2 separate regions of the Homo sapiens genome follow, and region 2 is linked to region 1. The links are contacts of gene promoters, found by promoter capture Hi-C in human tissues and cell types (Jung and others, 2019). All regions are on one chromosome and are shown on one strand. Each heading gives the region's core, a stretch centred on a gene start or on the middle of the fragment in contact. The rest is flanking DNA. Distances are from core to core; before and after follow the strand shown.

What was found. The method cuts DNA at HindIII sites, captures the fragments that hold promoters and counts their contacts. A contact is called where the count stands out against the background at its distance.
Region 2: a contact is called between the fragment with the promoter of SGTA here and the fragment with the promoter of MKNK2 in region 1, in 1 of the 25 tissues and cell types used here (dorsolateral prefrontal cortex).

Annotation. Positions count from the first base shown.
Region 1 is chr19:2,049,891-2,052,493 of GRCh38, forward strand. MKNK2 (MAPK interacting serine/threonine kinase 2) reads right to left here and starts at 1,354. Exons shown (of 14, transcript NM_199054.3): 1 at 1,206-1,354; 2 at 911-1,057. The coding sequence starts at 961. RefSeq lists enhancers at 1-262, 439-498 and silencers at 69-258, 989-1,528. The HindIII fragment of the contact is 30,775 bases long and covers 1-2,603 here.
Region 2 is chr19:2,781,973-2,784,575 of GRCh38, forward strand. SGTA (small glutamine rich tetratricopeptide repeat co-chaperone alpha) reads right to left here and starts at 1,301. Exons shown (of 12, transcript NM_003021.4): 1 at 1,261-1,301. RefSeq lists enhancers at 67-166, 1,663-1,732 and a silencer at 1,223-1,272. The HindIII fragment of the contact is 32,124 bases long and covers 1-2,603 here.

The DNA.
Region 1 (2,603 bases), core at 104-2,603:
TGTACACACAAGACAGAGACACACACACACACAAACACACACACATACACTCACACTCTCTCTTCCTCTCTCCAGTCCTGCCTTCCCTACCGGGCAACAGGTCCCTGCCCAAGGAAGCCCAGTGAAGCGATTACATAACCCCGGCCTGAGGGGTGGGGCGGGCCGGCTGACATCACTGCGTCCCCTGGGCCAGGTCCTGCGGGGCCCCTGCCCAGCACCTGCCCTCCCCTTCCCCCCCAAGATTTGCTCATCTGAAACCAGCACTCAACAGCAGTCACCACCCGGGCTGCGCAGAAACTTCCCGCTCCGACAGGAAACAGCACTTGGGCCTGGGGTGTCTGCGAAGTGCAGGGCTGAGGGGACATCCCATCCCCTCCCCCACGGCACAGGCCCCCTGGGGGTGGGTGCACCTGACCAGCCCGGCCTGGGGATTCTGAAAGAAAGTCCCCAGAAGCCACATGGAGGTGGGAATGGGACTGTGGCCCGCTGACCCGTCCCCACCAGGGCACAACCAGCTGGAGCTTGCAGGGGACACCCCCCATAAGCCACATGCAGCGACTGGGACAGGACTGCAGCCTGCTGACCCCCCAGAACATACCCGGCGGGGGCTTGCAGGGGACACACAGCCTGGTGCCCTGACCCGGAGGGGGCTCCTGCTCCCAGCCTCACTTGGGGGTCCTGGAGGAAGGACCCGGCGGCCATGGCTGGAGAGAGGACTGTGGCCTGCTGAACCCCCATCCTCGCACACCGACCCCGCTTCAGCGCACGGCCGGCCCGGGCAGCCCCGGGTGTAGGGCGGGGGCCAGGCACGAGCCCCGGGAGCCGATCTTAGGGGCGGGCCCCGCGCCCCCCACGCCGGCCATTCCGGTGGTCCAGCCCGGAGCGCCCCCAAACCGACCCCGGGCCTCACCTTGAACGAACGGTGGAAACCCTGAAGTTCGGCTGGTTTCTTCTGCACCATCTTCTGTCCGGGCCCCGCCAGCGGGGGAGGGGACCGAGGGCCCGGGGGGAGGCCCGAGGGCGGGCGGCCGGGCGGGGGGCGGCCGAGGAGGGGACCCTGCGGGCGGGAGCAGACAAAGGGAGGGCGGTGAGCGGAGCCCGGCCTGCCAGGAGCGCGGACCGGGCGGGGGCGGCGAGGGCTCCGCGGGGCCCGTTTCCCGCTACCGGGTCGGTGTCCTCGGGGCCGCCCTGGGGTTCGCACTCACCGGGGTCGGGCTTGGGCCGGGGCCGCAGTGCCGCCGCCGCCCCACGTCGCGCAGCCCGGACCCCGCTCCGCGGACCGCGCGGGGAACAGCGCCGCCGCCGCCGCCAGCGCGGACCCCTCTACCTGGGCCACCGCCGCTGAGAGGAGCCGGGCGCGTCGCCGCCGCCGCCACCTTTATAGGCCCGGACCTGCTCTGGCCCCGCCCCCGACGCAGGCTCCGCCCGGCCTCACCCCCTGCGCACGACGTGGGCGGAGCCAGAAGAGGGCGCTCTCCGGGAACCCAGTGCGGCTGCGCGCTCCGGCGGTGGGGCGTGTCCGAAACGGCTAGCGCACGCCTGCGCAGTGCGGCGCACGGGGGTCTCGGTGCGGAACCTAGGCAGCGACCCTGCGGCGCGCCCGGAGCTGGCCTGTTTTTGCCGCCTGAGGCTCGCGGGGCCCGTGGGACCTGCGAGGCCCTGGGCCGTGTCCTACCGCCTGGCCCCACACAGGGCAACTCCCTTGGCCTGTCAACCCAGGCCTAGTATACCCCGACTCCCTTGGTTCATGCCCTCGCTCTAGAACCTGCCATGGCTCCCTCTTGCAGTTCTCCAGTGCTGGCTCCAGCAGTCCCCCTCGTGCACCACCAGCACGCTTGGAGTCCCAGCCACTCCCTTCTAGTGCTGGGGGACCAGCCACCGCCACCTACTTTCTTCTTCCCCTGGGCCACCCTGCCTGGGGAGCACTGAGCTCCCCGAGTTTGCTTTGTGGTTGGCAGGAACCAGAGTAGAGGGTGGGGACCGAGGTCTGTGAAGGACCCTTCCTCTGTCCTCGAATAGCATTTCAGGGAGAACTGGGACCTGAGACCCACTGGGAAAGAGCCCAAGGGGTGGATGGTCGCCAGGACAGGAAGTAAAACACAGTCCCATTTTGGCTGGGGCCCCAAACCAGGCTTAGATAGAATCAGCCTGTCCTGAGCTGCCAGTCCCCCATCCCACAGCATCCTGGTTCAAAGTGCTCCCCAGGCCCCGGGCCTGGGGCACACAAGGAGTGGGGGTTCCCCTGCTGGGTGGACTGTGGTCTCCTCTTCTGCAGGGGTTTCCAGAAGCTTCGCACAGCCCATCCCACCATCCCCCAACCAGGCCCTGAGCTCAAGAGGGGCTGGAGCCCCACTGACCTGAAGCTGGAGGGCCCCTGCCTGCAAGGCCACAGCTCTCAGGCCACAGGGGCTGGGAGGCCTGGCCTCAGCCACCCCCGGGGCATTGGGGGGAAGCCTGTGGGGAATTCCCAGCCAGAACCCAGCCCAGCACCTGGCATTGCCCTGACTCTTGGCAATGGGGGGACAGAAAACCAGGTCCCCCAGCCCCCCTTATTGTGCATGTGGGTGCGTGTGTGTGCGTGTGAACACATACACGCACAAACA
Region 2 (2,603 bases), core at 51-2,550, 730 kb after region 1:
CTGGGATTACAGGTGCACACCACCATGCCCAGCTAATTTTCATATTTTCAGTAGAGACGGGGTTTCACCACGTTGGCTAGGCTGGTCTTGAACTCCTGACCTCAGGTCATCAGCCCGTATGGTAGGGTTTTTAAAGCATTATTGACATTTAAAGCTGGATCATTTTCTGGGGTGAGGCCGTCCTGGGTACTGCAGGGTGCCGAGCAGCAACCCTGGCCTCCACCAACTCCAAACCAGGGGGTCCCCCAAATCATGACAAGCACAAATGTCACCAAGAATCCCTGGGGCACAGAATTGTTCCTGGTTGAGAACCACTGGTCAAGGGAGGGAAAAGGCAGACAAAAGGAATAATCAGAGACAGAAACAAAAGAAAATGGGACAATCATTCAACCTCTGAAGGGCACACTACACTGCAATTTTCTGGCACCTAATAACAAAAACAGCTATTCTCAAGCCAGCTCTCTCTTATCAAGTTCCAGGCACCTGATCAAATAATTGAATGTGGGTTTATCCTCATAATGACCCTCCGAGGCATCTGCTTTTACAACTCGTTTGCGAAAGAAGGAACAGTTTGCTCAGAGAGGGAAGGCGACTCACCCAGGTTTACACAGCGGGTGGGAGGTGGTGGTGGACGGTCCTGAATCCCAGATTTCCCCCACCTCTAGCACGATATGCAGAAGAAGACTCTAAACATGATATAAGACGAACGCCTGCTAATTCTTTGGAGTTCTCAGATTCCGCTGGACCCTGCGGCTCTCCTTCTCCTAGGCAGGGACTTTTGAACAACGCCCGTTTTACAGAGGGGAAAACTGAGGCTCCGAGAAGCCAAGAGGCTGGGCAAGGTCACCCAGGTAGGGACTGGCGGCGCTGGAACCAGAGTTCCGACTTCAGTCCCCACAAACGGGGGTCCCTGAGTCACAGGGACGACGTTTCCAGGCGGTTAATAAGAGCGGAACGGCAGCGAACACCCAGCGAGCGCTCACTACATGCGGGGCGCCTTCCCCTCCCGCCGTCCTCGCCACCAGGCCGCGGACCAGCATTTCCAGGACCTGGGGCCTGGGGAAGGGAGATCAGGGCTCGAAGGGCCTGCCCGATGGCGCCCGGCCTCAGTTTCCCCTCCGCACCGCCTACTCACAGGACCCCGCGGGTCGCGGTGACCCTGGCCTCACGATCCCCAAACTCTTACGAGCTTTGGGGCCCCGTGGGCCCCGAGCCGCAGACCCCAGACCCACCAGGCTCAGCGCAGTGCCCCTCACTCACCTCTCAGGCGACCGATCCCCGACCCACCGACGGTTGCGCTTGCGCACCGCGGTGCCGCCCGGCCCCGGCCCCAGGGCGCGACGCCTGCGCAAAAGAAAGGCGCCCGGAGTTGCTTCCCTTCTGCACAGGCGCGTTAATGATGGAGGCGGGCGTGGAAGGAAGTGACGCAACGTAGAGGCGGGAACCAGCTGGTTGTTAGGGCAACTGACCTCTGCGACCTAATGGAGGCCGGAAATCGGGTCTGGTTTGCCCTCTAGAGCGGGAATGAAGCGGTGCACGGTGGAACAGTGGCTGACTCCAGCCGGTCGCCGAGCTGACCACGTGGTGCTGGGCCGGCCACGTGGTGCAGCCGCGTTTGGACACCTGGACTCCAGAGCGTCACAGCTGCGCAATGAATGGGAGTCAGTGTTACCCGCTTACTATCTTTGTTCATTTATTCACCCACCCATCTACTCACCCACAAATGCATTCTTTCATGCAGTGTGAGACGTTTGTGAGTATAGAGCCATTTGTAGACAGCAGGTGCCTAATATTCATTCAATATTTATTGCAAAGCAGCCATAAAAACCAGCAAAGTGTCTACTCTCATTATTTTGCATTGGGGTAGACGGACTATAAACTAATAAACTAGTACATAAATAGAGAAACAAATTTCACAGCAAACACTAAGAAAAAAAAAATGAAGGTAGTGTGATTGTCACTGGGAGCTAAGTCGCATGGGATGGGTAGGAAAGATCATCCTTTACATTTGGATTTCAAGGATAGGAAAGTCCAAACGGACCCCAGGCACAGGGAACAGCGAAAATGAACGCCGATGTAAAATTAATCTTGGTGTTGCTCAAGACATGTGATGAGACATTTCCAAGGACGACAGAAAACTGATCACCATCTAAGTTACAGTTGCCAGAAATGTTCTCCCAATTCATTTTCGTCCTACTCAAAATACATGCACGATTAATGGCGTGGATTATTTTAATTTCTTTTGCAGAAATAAAGGAGGTGAGGCCGGCCGTGGTGGCTCACGCCTGTAATCCCAGCACTTTGGGAGGCCAGGGGGCAGATCACTTGATGTCAGGAGTTCGAGACCAGCCTGGCCAACACGGTGAAACCCTGTATCTACTAAAAATGCAAAAATTAGCCGGGCGTGGTGCGGGCATTTGTAGTCCCAGCTACTCGGGACGCTGAGACAGGAGAATCGCTTGAACCCGAGAGGCAGAGGTTGCAGCGAGCCGAGATCGCGCCATTGCACTCCAGCCTGGGCGACTGAGCGAGACTCCCTCCAGCCCCTCCAAAGCAAAAGAAAACAAAACAAAAACAAAAAAAGGGAAGAAAGGAGGTCGGTT